Linked DNA regions of Homo sapiens: all the other regions are linked to region 3. Evidence: promoter capture Hi-C in 16 types of primary human blood cells and fetal thymus (Javierre and others, 2016). All regions are on one chromosome and are shown on one strand. The core of a region is centred on a gene start or on the middle of the fragment in contact, and the rest is flanking DNA. Distances in the headings are between cores, read along the strand shown. Region 1 holds the start of CLTA (clathrin light chain A). Region 2 holds the start of IL11RA (interleukin 11 receptor subunit alpha). Region 3 holds the start of TESK1 (testis associated actin remodelling kinase 1).

What was found. Contacts are between HindIII fragments. The CHiCAGO score rates a contact against its expected background, and 5 or more counts as called.
Region 1: a contact is called between the fragment with the promoter of CLTA here and a fragment that was not itself captured in region 3, in 1 of 17 cell types (fetal thymus). The highest score is 6.2, in fetal thymus.
Region 2: the fragment with the promoter of IL11RA here is called in contact with a fragment that was not itself captured in region 3 in 1 of 17 cell types (erythroblasts); the score reaches 5.1 in erythroblasts.

The regions. Positions count from the first base shown.
Region 1 is chr9:36,187,735-36,192,270 of GRCh38, forward strand. CLTA (clathrin light chain A) reads left to right here and starts at 3,187. Exons shown (of 5, transcript NM_001833.4): 1 at 3,187-3,539. The coding sequence starts at 3,323. RefSeq lists enhancers at 2,822-3,447, 3,163-3,382. The HindIII fragment of the contact is 1,815 bases long and covers 2,081-3,895 here.
Region 2 is chr9:34,650,694-34,653,658 of GRCh38, forward strand. It overlaps IL11RA (interleukin 11 receptor subunit alpha), which reads left to right and starts at 1,492. Exons shown (of 13, transcript NM_001142784.3): 1 at 1,492-1,540. It overlaps GALT (galactose-1-phosphate uridylyltransferase), which reads left to right. Exons shown (of 11, transcript NM_000155.4): 11 at 1-342. RefSeq lists a silencer at 1,448-1,547. The HindIII fragment of the contact is 12,105 bases long and covers 1-2,965 here.
Region 3 is chr9:35,602,615-35,606,764 of GRCh38, forward strand. It overlaps TESK1 (testis associated actin remodelling kinase 1), which reads left to right and starts at 2,648. Exons shown (of 10, transcript NM_006285.3): 1 at 2,648-3,224; 2 at 3,370-3,491; 3 at 3,623-3,671. The coding sequence starts at 3,006. RefSeq lists an enhancer at 1,884-1,993 and silencers at 2,474-2,723, 2,754-3,053, 3,074-3,243, 3,178-3,472, 3,254-3,513. The HindIII fragment of the contact is 1,139 bases long and covers 1,303-2,441 here.

The DNA.
Region 1 (4,536 bases), core at 1,937-4,436, 590 kb after region 3:
AGGCCTGGGTCACATGGGGGTGGTCCACTCAATCCAAACCACAAAACTGAAAATGAGGAAGAATGGTTCCCCAAAGGAATATTGGAGTGCTGGTATCAGAACAAAGGGAATTGGATGTAGGCAGGCAGAACCAACAGATGTCCACTATGCTTCCATCCCTCAACCTAGTGCAAACTGATTTCCACTCCTGGCATCCACTGACATCTCTCTCACCAAGGTGACCAGGGAACTTGATGGCCAAGAGCATCTGCTCAGCTCTCATTCTTCACCTTTCTGCTAGTCACTCCTTCCTTCTGCAAACTCTGCTTGACTTCCATCACCCAGCTCTAACTGAACCCTCTCCAATCTCTCTGACCCACCCCTCTACCTCCTTCACATATAGCCATCCTCCAAGATTTAGGCCTCAGTCCTTCCCTCTCTAGTCTCCATCTGTGGTCCCACTCTCTCCTATACACACTTCTGTTGGGAGCCGAAAAGGCCAAAGGGATCGTGACCAACTCAGCATTCCACTGGAGGCTATATGATCAAACAGCAAACTGTTTATCATGAATGTAGGATGTGAGCAAACACACTGCACCTGCCACCAAAAGGTTTGCTGATGGACATCACTCCTTGGTGCAGGGCTCCTTGAAGTTATCTAAGAAATCTAGCACCTATTGTTCAAAAGATGCAGTCTCACAAGCCTGCTGTGAACCAAACCTCTAACTGACAATTACCGACAATCACCCCCCCTTTCTCGCTCTCTTTTGCCTACGAAATACGGAGGGATGTGTAAAACTCAGGGCCCTTGTCCACTAGAGGCAAAGTGCCCCCTGACCCCTTCTTCCAAATATACTCTTTTGTCTTGTCTTTTATTCCCATTGCCCACCCACCTTTGTTCAGTCCACCAGGGATCATGGCAGGCTACACACTTCTAGTTCCTGGACATCTTCTAAATCTTCTGTCTCCCAGCAATCACCTGGGCTCCCCCAAAGCCCTCAAACTAATGGTTCTGGCAATTTCACAGATTCATGATTTATGACCCCATCCTTTCCCCTTGCCTTTTTCCCAGCCCGTACCTCTGGTCGGTCACCAAGTTAGTCACTTCCCTACTGGGACCCGCTTTCCCATCAACGCTCCCCACTCAGCTCCATACCTCTGCCCTGCCCAGACCTTCATCATGTCACTCCTGACATCTCTGCCCACAGCCTCTGCCCCATCCATCCTGCAACCAGGGACCCGATTAACCTCCTAAGCAGCAGTTGATCAAAACATTCCTTTATCTGAAACCTTCTATGGTTCCTTATTGCCATTAAGATTCCTTAACATGGAATGCTTTCAGGGCTCCAGAATCTGTCCCCAGATTTTCCTTCAATTATTCATCTTGCTGAGCTCTTCAGACTCCAACTAATTTACTCACTGTCCCCAAAACATGCCAAACATTTTCCCACCTCTGAACTTTTACATGACACTAACATTAGACCCTCATTATTGACTCTTCTAAACGTTCCCCATATTTCAAAACTGAGCTCCAAGCCACCTCTGTGAAATCATCCGTAAACACATCAGCTATTCCTCCAATTTTGAGTGTATACTTGTTTGTTGCTTTTGCATAATATGTAATGCCTCCTCTAGCAAGGGAATCACAGGAGAGTTTCTCCCAAAGTCATGCATTTCCCCAAAAAGAATGCTGTCTGTTCCGGAGCTACTACTGTTGTGAGCAACTAAAAGTTGTCTTCCTTGGGCTCTCTCATAGTAGTCCCTGCCCCTCTTTTCCTCATGAGACTATGTCAAGGCTAATGTGAAAATACTTCATGCACTGTTGCCAATGTATGTTAGGGATGAGCATAAAACAACAGACAAGGGGAAACAGAATCAATTGCAGACCCTAACATTTTAACTTTCTTAAATGTTTTTCTTCAACACTTTCCTATGGTTCATACTTTAAATGACTTTAAAATTATGCTTTAAGTAAATATATGCTTTAAATAATTTTTATTTGCTTCATTTTTCCTTCATAGCTATCCCTTTTTTTTTGTCATCAAAGATATGTGCGTTTTTTATAAAAACACTTTCTTGTCCCCTGCTGACTACCTCTGGAAGCTTCTTGTTGACCTCTGGTTTTTTGGTTTCTTTTTTTGGCTTTTCATTTCTTAGGGTGGTGGTGGTGGTAGTGAAGGAGAGGGGTCTTCTGGTGGCCCCTGCATAAGCACTCCCCCTCAACATGAGCATGATTAACTGGAACCACTGTTATTTCTGTGGTGTAGACAAAATGAGCCATGTAGCTATTAACATCTCCCTGATTTAAAAAGAAACACGGAACTTTCTTTTTCCTGCTGTCCTTAGGGAGGAAAGGTGTAAATATAAGAGACTGTAGCTAGTATCTTGGAAGTCCCCAGGAGACAGGCGTTTCCTCTTGGTCACTGACTCTCTGGGTCACTGACGCTCCTTGAACAGCAGGGCCACCGTGTCTCCCTTTGAAGCAAGTGATCCTTAAGGAATTTTCCAGGTTTAGTAACTTCTGTCTAGCTCCGAAAAGACGTAATGGCTGCAAAAGTGCTTCGTTGAAGAAGATAAGATATATTCATTTTTAAATAAAAATACTTATGGGCGAGAAAAATCGGAGTGGACTGAATCAATTACAGTAAATCTATGGGCTCTAAGGGAGCAAATAATCCAGGCTGGCTGAAAGAATTAAATATTTTAAATTTATAAAGCCAGGGACCCTCAAATCCATAAAAGGATTCAATCTTCTTCTTCTTTTTTTTTAGGATTCAATCTTCTAATAATCCCGGGAGGGGGCGCAAGAGCAGGATTCTTGTTTCTATTTTACGAATGAGGAAACTGAGGTTCAGAAAGCCTAAGTGGCATGCCTCTTCAGTAATCGGCCAATCGTCGCTGCCCTAACTTCACCTCACCTCCCAGTGCAGCACTAGAGTCCCCTCAGGGGTGGCCGTCCCTGGTCAGTCCAGCTCCAGCAGACGGGGTGGGTAGGACGCTCCCTATCAGGCAGCACTTCCGCCTCCCGGGGCCCGCGCAGCTCACCTCCCTCACCTCCCGCCCTACCCCAGTCACGAGTTGTTTTAGGGGGACCGCCCCTCCACTTGCTGATTGGGTAGCTCCTGAACCATTGTTGTCCTCTGATTGGTTGTTCCCTTTTCGGCTCTGCAACACCGCCTAGACCGACCGGATACACGGGTAGGGCTTCCGCTTTACCCGTCTCCCTCCTGGCGCTTGTCCTCCTCTCCCAGTCGGCACCACAGCGGTGGCTGCCGGGCGTGGTGTCGGTGGGTCGGTTGGTTTTTGTCTCACCGTTGGTGTCCGTGCCGTTCAGTTGCCCGCCATGGCTGAGCTGGATCCGTTCGGCGCCCCTGCCGGCGCCCCTGGCGGTCCCGCGCTGGGGAACGGAGTGGCCGGCGCCGGCGAAGAAGACCCGGCTGCGGCCTTCTTGGCGCAGCAAGAGAGCGAGATTGCGGGCATCGAGAACGACGAGGCCTTCGCCATCCTGGACGGCGGCGCCCCCGGGCCCCAGCCGCACGGCGAGCCGCCGGGGGGTCCGGGTGAGAGTGCGGGCGCGTTTGGGGCGAGAGGACTTGTCTGGAAACTCGGTCCACAGTGGGTCCGAGAGCTTCTGTGTGACTCGTGCTCCTTGCTGAATTAGGAGGTTAGGGAGCAGTGCAAACAGGAAACGAGACCCTGGCCCGGTCTTTCAGAAACCTAGGCTCGAGAAGCCTGTTCGGTTCTCAGCATGTTTGAGTGCTTCTGGGCGCGGGCGGAGCGAGAAAGCAAGTGTAGGGTGGCAGGCTCCGGAGCCGGAAGAAGCCCGTTCAATTCAGCAACTTTTCATTAAGCATTTGCTGTGCCTTTAGTCCGGTCTCTGAAGCAACCGCATTGGCGCAGTTTTTCCAGACTTATAAGCTTATAAGTCTGAGCCGAGCACAGAACTCGTTATTAGAAAAGGAGGGCGGAAAAAAATAAGAATGGAAATATCGTTTTTGAGAGATACAAACAAAAGTAGCAATGCAGTTCAGCATTTAAGCACTTAAGGTGTACAGAGTGTTGGATTACGAGGAGGAAGGAGGGAGTAGGGAACTCGAAAGATGATCTAGGTCTGGAGAAAGAACTGCCAAGCGCGGTAGGAGTTTGCTATCGTTGAGCGATTGATTTACAGCTAGGACTTCTGGAGCTCTTCCTCTGGGAACAGCTTTGGTAGGCAATATTGCCTAAGCAGAACCCAAGATTAGCCTAAACCAATCAGGGAGGGATGAAGAGGTGAATAGAGAATGTTCTCAGCCAAACTCAAGTAAAAATGGGGCAGGTAGGATGGCAGTTTGACCTTTGGATGCCTTAACCTGTGTGTGATGCTTAGGATCATGAGTGGAAAAGACCTACTTAATAATACAAAGAAGTAGGAAATTTAGCTAGAAGAAATGAAATACGGCTTTTCATTCACTTAAAAAATTCCAACTAAGGGAGAATAGGGCACTACTGGGGCATATAGGAGTAGTGTCTACCCTAAATTCAAACCTTAAGGAGCCAGGTAGGTAACATATACGA
Region 2 (2,965 bases), core at 242-2,741, 950 kb before region 3:
ATGCAAAAATCTACCCCAAATTTCTGAACAAAATTAATATTCAGTATTATATCTAGCCTATAGATTCTCTTACTCTTGGTGTAATGACAGCATTCCCAGTTTAGGAAACTGTTTTAAAATCTTGTGTCTTGGTTGTGGCTGAGGCTTTGGGAAGGCCAGAGCCCCCTTTGCCACCACCCCTAGGGTGTCAGCTCCAAGCCTGGGCCTGAGGGTTTGATGGGGAGCGGGTGAGCTGGATCCTGATCCCAGTGGTCAGTGGCCAGATCCTGGGCTGCTGGCCAGAACCCTGGCTTTGTGAGTGGCTGCAGCTTGGCTCTGCTCCAGCCCACAGGGGCTAAAGGGGCGGGTAGGGAGTGTGTAGGGAGCGTGTACGTGGCTTTGTGTCCTTGGCTCCTCCAGACTCTCACATGTGCGGGCACCATATACTTCTGCTGCCCTTGTGCCCCAATCATTGCACAAACAGAAACAGCTCTGACAGAGAAGGGACTGCTAGAGTTAGGAACCCTAGGGCCTGGAAGGAAGGTATGGCTCTCAGAGTGACCTGGGGTCTATTCAGTCCCCTCTGGACCTGTTTCCCTGGCAACGCTGTGGGAACAACAGTCTATGCAACACAGGAGACCTGATGCCACTGGTGTCCTCCAAATTTTAAGGCGAAGGCAGGCATTGTGAATGATGCAGGGATGGCCAGAATGGTTTTTGCCTTCGTTCTTTCCCCAGGGGAACCAAGCCTGTGGGTGGGGAAATCACACTAAGGCTGGACAGTGACTGAATCTGGCCCAGGAGAAACTTGGCTGCCTGCCTTCCAGACCAGGGTTTTTCTTCCCTGAGATCCTGGAGGGGAAGTACCTGGAACTTGGGAGTGTTGCCCTGGTCTGGAAGATCTGATAGACATAGTATGCACACATTTCCCTCGAGCTTCCCATGACTGGGGAGTAGATGAGAACCCTGAGTGGGTGGCTGGTTTCTTGAGGCATACATATACCCGACACACCTTACACCTCTGATTTGGCTGCATTTTGGAATCATCTGGGAAGTTTTAAACAATACTGGTGCCTAGGTCCAACCTCCAGAGACTCTGATTTAATTGGTATGGGGTGGGGTTTTGCAGTTTTCAAACCACAATATCCAGCAAAGTTTGAGAACCACTGCCCTACACAGCCCTCCTTCTTCTTTATCTTATCTGGAGTCAGGGGCACCTTCAGCTTCTCCAATCACCTGGCCAGTGGCTCTTGTTTCCAGTCCTGCTGTTCCAGGGTGGATAGGCCTTCAGGCGGAGACCCAGGAATCCAGCTCCAGACTCTGTCCCAAGCAGCCTCTTCAGTCCGGGACGGGACAGGAAGTGTCCGGCGGAGGTGGGGGTGGAGGTGATTGGCAGTTGGAGTCTCCAATGGGCCAGGAGCCCCCCTATTTCACTCCTCTCCTTCCATTGGCGCCTGGGCGGAGCCACCCCCGCTGCGGGGGCCCAGGGCGGGAGGGAGTAGAGGCCGGGGCAGAGGGCGAGGGCGAGGGCAGAGGGCGCTGGCGGCAGCGGCCGCGGAAGGTGAGGCCTGGTGTAGACGCCAAAGTCTTGTCAGGAGTGGGCGGGGCAGGGTGATGTATGATCTGAAAGGCCGGGAGTGACTAACGACTGTCAGTGTGTATGTGCCTGTGAGGCTGTGTCTGTGTGACAGTATCATTGTGTGCGATTCTGAGTGTCACTTGGTGCAGCTGTCAGCTAATGTGACTGCGTGTGTCAGTGTGCATGGAGCTGGAGGTGCATGTGGCTGTGCAAGTGTGGGATTATGTGTGTATCTGTCAATGCACATTTTTGGTGGGACTGGGTTGTGTGTTTGTGTGAGAGGGACTGTGACCACATGAGGGAATGTGTTTTGGGAAGGTCTCTGTGGGGTTTGAGACCATGTCTGCCAGCGTGAGAGTGGGTGGCTGGCTTTGTGTGTGCCAATGTGTGACTTCAGCAGTAGCAGAGCAAAAGTGAGGTTTGTGACTATGTGTGTGTCCTGGGTCCTAACTTAAACCGTGTGGGAGTACAGCTGTATTCATGTATTGGGGGACCTACCTCAAGAGCCCATGGGACTGACCTTTCTCTTAAGTGTCCAGCATTGACAGACACACCCACAACACACGTGGCTTCCCCTCCTTCCTCTGCTCAAGAATCCCCAGCATCAGGTCTACTGCTCCTTATTTTCTGTTTCCCTGCTTGGCTCAGTTTCCCTTACGTGCCGTTTTCTGTCCCTATTGCTGTCTTACTAGAGATACCTCTGTGTGTTTCTTCACAGCTTTGTTCCCCTGGTCTCTCTGTGTGGGTGCATTTCCAGTTTTGCCTTTCCTTTCTCTCTGTCTCTCTCTGTGCCCCTATGCCTGCCTTCCCTGCTGATCTTGATCTCTGGCTAGTTGGGGGCCTGTAACAGTGATGAGATGCGGGTCTGCCCCGGCTAAGAGCTCCCTGAGAGAGGGGGCTTAGACCATGATGAAGAGTTGCTTTTAGGCGGTGCTGTGAGCCCTGGTAGGGGCTGTGTGCGTGTGTGACTGCGTGAGTGTATGAATATGTGTAAGTGTGTCTGAGTCTGAGGCGGTGTGGCTGTGCCCGTGTGACTGTGAGTGACCGCATGTGAGAGTGTATGAGTCTGAGGGTAACTGTGGGTCTTGTGTATCTGGCACCAAGGGACCAAAGGCATTTCCTGGTGCTGGGGCCCAAAGAATGGAGGGGGAGGTGAGAAATGGCTGGAACTTCCAGGGGAGGGGGAACTGGACTCTTTGGCCTCTCCTTATATCCCCCAACCTGGGGCCTCCCTTCCCCTGGAAGCACAGCCAGCTGTACCCTAAGGAAACATTTGGTGAGGAGTGAAAAGAGGGGGAGTTTGTATCTGATTTTTCATTTGATTGTGTCCACGTGTGTTCAAAGGCATGCCCTTTTGTTAACTGTGCCTCTTGAGTCTGTGTGTGAATGTGACTGTGTCTGGCTGTG
Region 3 (4,150 bases), core at 622-3,121:
AGTGAGGGAAATGTAAACAACTGGATGCTTGATGACATGAAGGAACTATTGTTTTTTTTTGGTGTGACAATACTGTGATTTGGTTTTAAAGAAGAATCCTTATCATTTAGAGATAACGTACTGAAACATTTACAGGATGAAATGATATGTCAGAAATATACACAAATATGGAGTGGGGAAGAGGGCACGGGTATAGATGAAACAAGATTGGCCATGAATTGCTCATTGGAGAATCACTGACATAGAAGGGTAAATGAAAGTAGGTACTTTCACCTGGGCCAGGTCAAATATGGCAACAGTACAACTGAGGCAAAGGAAAGCCAATTTTGCACTATGGGTTTCCAACAAAATGGTCTTACTAATCCAAGGTAAATAAACATTCATTTTTCTATTCTGTGTGTGTGTGTTAAGACATTTTCCACCATACAAACAACAACAAAAGGTTTTTTTGAGACAGAGTCCCGCTCTTGTCGCCTAGACAGGAGTGTAATGGCGCGATCTTGGCTCACTGCAACCTCCGCCTCCCGGGTTCAAGCGATTCACCTGCCTCAGATTCCAGAGTAGCTGGAATTACAGGCGCTCGCCACATCAGGCTAATTTTTTTGTATTTTTAGTAGAGACGGGGTTTCACTACGTTGGCCAGGCTGGTCTCATCCTTTCCTGATTGAACCACAGTCACAGCCTCCTTCCTAATCAGTCTCCCGGCCTCCATACAACCACCGCAATCATCTTACAAAAAATAGGCACCTGGCTCTTTGGCTTGGCATTACCATCACCAACTACTACAGTAATTCTCAAACGTGATAAAGGGCCAGAACCCAGTGTCGGTTAAAAGATCTATGATATTAAACAAAATGAGGCATAAATTCCTAGTGTTTACAGATGTCATACAATAAAAAGCAAATTCACAAATTAGTTGTAGATGTTAACATTAATGTGATGAATGAGCGTGTGCTGAAGACCAAACGCCTCCAGAAAAAAGAACAGGATGCACGTGCCCCGTGCAATTCTGTGAGGTTGGCCTGCCTCCACCGGCTGTGGAAGGATTGCGAATGTCTCCCATTCCTCTCGCTCCAAACTTGTGCAATACCTTCCCTTGTACAGCGCACCAAGACAGCATCTGGCCTTCTCTTGACTCTAAGGCATCATGTATCATTTATGACCGTCTTTATTCTTTTCTCAGTAGCCCTCGACAAGCGAGTAGTATTTCTTGGCTCCAAGTCTCATAAACGTGTAACCAGACTCCATTGGAAGACGGTAACCCCACGCGATACGGACTGTGCTTGTATTAATTCTCTTTTAAGCTTACTACAGAAATATCAATACAGTACTTGAGAATTCCTGCAGGACTCAGCCTCGCTTCCTCGAGGAGCTCTCAGCCTGCCTCCGCACTCGAGACGGCAGCTTTCTCTCCCTCCGCCCACCGTTCCGCCGCTAGGTGGCAGGCGGCTCAACGACGCCCTTTTAAACCGTTTGCCCCGGAGTGGACCGCCGGGATCGCGTGTCACCACCCAACCCTAGCGATGATTGGCTATTTCGCCGAGGCCGGAGGAGGAACCAGCGGCAGAACCGGAAGCGTCTGGTACGGCGAGTGCACGGAGTCCTGAGACTGCGTGCGCACCCAGGCACCGCGCCGACTTAAAGAGGCCAGTTGCAGCCCCTCCTCCGGCCTTAGGGGGCAGACCGTGTTCCTACGTGGAGGGCGGAACCCTCACACTGAGGAGGGCTGGGTCACACTGAGGGGAGGAGTCACCTTGAGAGGAGGGGTCACAATGACTAGTGGATTTCCTCGGAGGTGGGGTCTCACTGCGTGGGAGGAACACAGAGCAAGGGGGTGCAGCACTGAGGGGTTCTGACACACTGACGGTGGCAGTGCCACACTGGGGAAAAGTGCCCCCGAAAGGGAGGTGTCTCACTGAGGAAGGGAGGGGTCTCCGAGGGACAGCGTTCTTTGAGGGGGGTGGGATCTTGCGGAAGGACGGGCTTCCCTGCAGGTGGAGGCTTCTCTCTTAGAGTCTTTTGGGCAAAGTAGTAAGAGGGAGGTCCCGGCTGGGTGGTCACAGGGCGGAGGACCTGGACTCTCTTCTTTATTGGGAGGCGGCAGGATGAAGTGAGGAGGAGTCGGGGCTAAGCTGGGTATGGGCCGGCCAAAGGCTTCCTATAGCCCCGGGGTATCACAACCTCCCGTGAAGGTAGAAGGTGTTAGGGAGGCCAGAGGTTCAAGGTGTCGGAGTCGAAGAGACCTGGGAAATGGGCAGGCTGGGCCGGGGCGCAGGCCAGGAAGGTGGACAGGTTGCTAGGCTACCTCTGATTGCGGCTGGGCCTGAGGGGCCTACCTTTCTGCCCCGTTGGTCCCTGGAGCCCAGGAATCCGGCAGGTTTCTGAGCCCGACCCTCAACGGACAGTAACCCAGGGAGGAGAGGGGACTCCCTGGGCAGCTAAGCTTCGCATGCGCACCATCAGCCCTTAATTCCCTCCCGTTATTCAAGCTCAGGCCGGAGCTTATTTGACCCGGGCGGCCCAGGGCATCGCGGCCGGAAAGCGGGGAGGCGGGGGTGCGCACCTGAGGGGGCGTGGCCGCTGCCGGGAGGCCGGGCTGGAAGGAGTTAAGCGGAGGCCCGGCCCAGCCCCGCCCCCGGCAGGCCGCGGAGCCTGATCCCCGGCGGCTAAGCGGAGCAGCCGCCGCCCGCCCGCCCGCCCGCCTCCGCCCGCGGCAAGCCAGCCCGCCGGCGCCCCGGAGCGCTGCCGCCACCGTCACCGCCACCGCCCGGTCCAGGCCCAAGCCCAGGCCCTGCGCGGAGCGGAGCGGCGCGGCGTCCACCCGGGCCCAGCCAGCCGGCGCGGCGGGGGCGGGTCCAGGATCTTCGGCGGATCTTCCATTCTCAGGGCGGGAGCCGGAGTCCGGGCGCCCGGGATCGGGCTGGGCCCGCGCCCATGGCAAGCGCGGCCTGCCCGGGCCCTGGGGACCCTGCCATGTGAGGCAGGCCCGGGCTGGGGGCCCGGCCATGGCCGGGGAACGGCCCCCACTGCGGGGCCCTGGGCCCGGGCCTGGAGAGGTGCCGGGGGAGGGGCCCCCGGGGCCGGGGGGCACGGGCGGAGGCCCGGGCCGGGGCCGCCCCTCCTCCTACCGGGCTCTCCGCAGCGCCGTGTCTAGCCTGGCGCGTGTGGACGATTTTCACTGCGCGGAGAAGATCGGGGCCGGCTTCTTCTCTGAGGTCTACAAGGTAGGACCGGCCGAGAGGGCAGAGGGGCGGGACCGAGCCTTCAACCAGAGGCTGAAACTAGGGGGCCGGGAGTGCGGGGAAGAGGGTCCAGACTCCGGCGACCCGCCCGACCTGCCCGGCCCTCGCCGGCTGCTCCTGCCCCCAGGTTCGGCACCGACAGTCAGGGCAAGTCATGGTGCTGAAGATGAACAAGCTCCCCAGTAACCGGGGCAACACACTACGGGAAGTGCAGCTGATGAACCGGCTCAGGCACCCCAACATCCTAAGGTGAGCGGCCCCAGTCTCTGGGCAGCTTGCTGGGCGGGAGAGAAAGGGAAAGATCCCGCGGGAAAAGTGGAACTGAGGAGGAGCTGAGGCCTTTAATAGCCTATCCTTCTATCTTCCCCATCCTCTTGCAGGTTCATGGGAGTCTGTGTGCACCAGGGACAGCTGCACGCTCTTACAGAGGTGAGGATAGGCCAGGAAGGAGGGATCCCCACCCCCCTTCACCCCCAAGGATAAAGGGAGTCAACAGGCCTGGTGGATCTACGGAGGACTAGTGAGAGGCAACAGGATCTCCTCTCAGGGGAGGCTTTCCTGAACTTTCCTTTAGGCAAACCACATATAAAAGGCCTCAACTGGTCTTATTCTCTGTATCCCCTAGAACAGTGCTGTCCAATAGAATTTTCTTCAGTGACGGAAATGTTCTCTATCTGTGCTGTCCAATACAGTAGCCACTAGCCACATGTGGTTAAATTTAAATTATTTTCATTGTTTAGATTATTTTTTGTGGGTCAACTTGATTAAAAAATTTTTTAAATTATTTAAATTGTTGCACATGGCTAATGGCTATTGAGTTGAACGGGGCAATCCTAGAACATGGATGGGGGGGGTCCTACAGCACAGTCTTACCCCTATGACCTCTGTGATCCTCGGGAGTGTCCCCT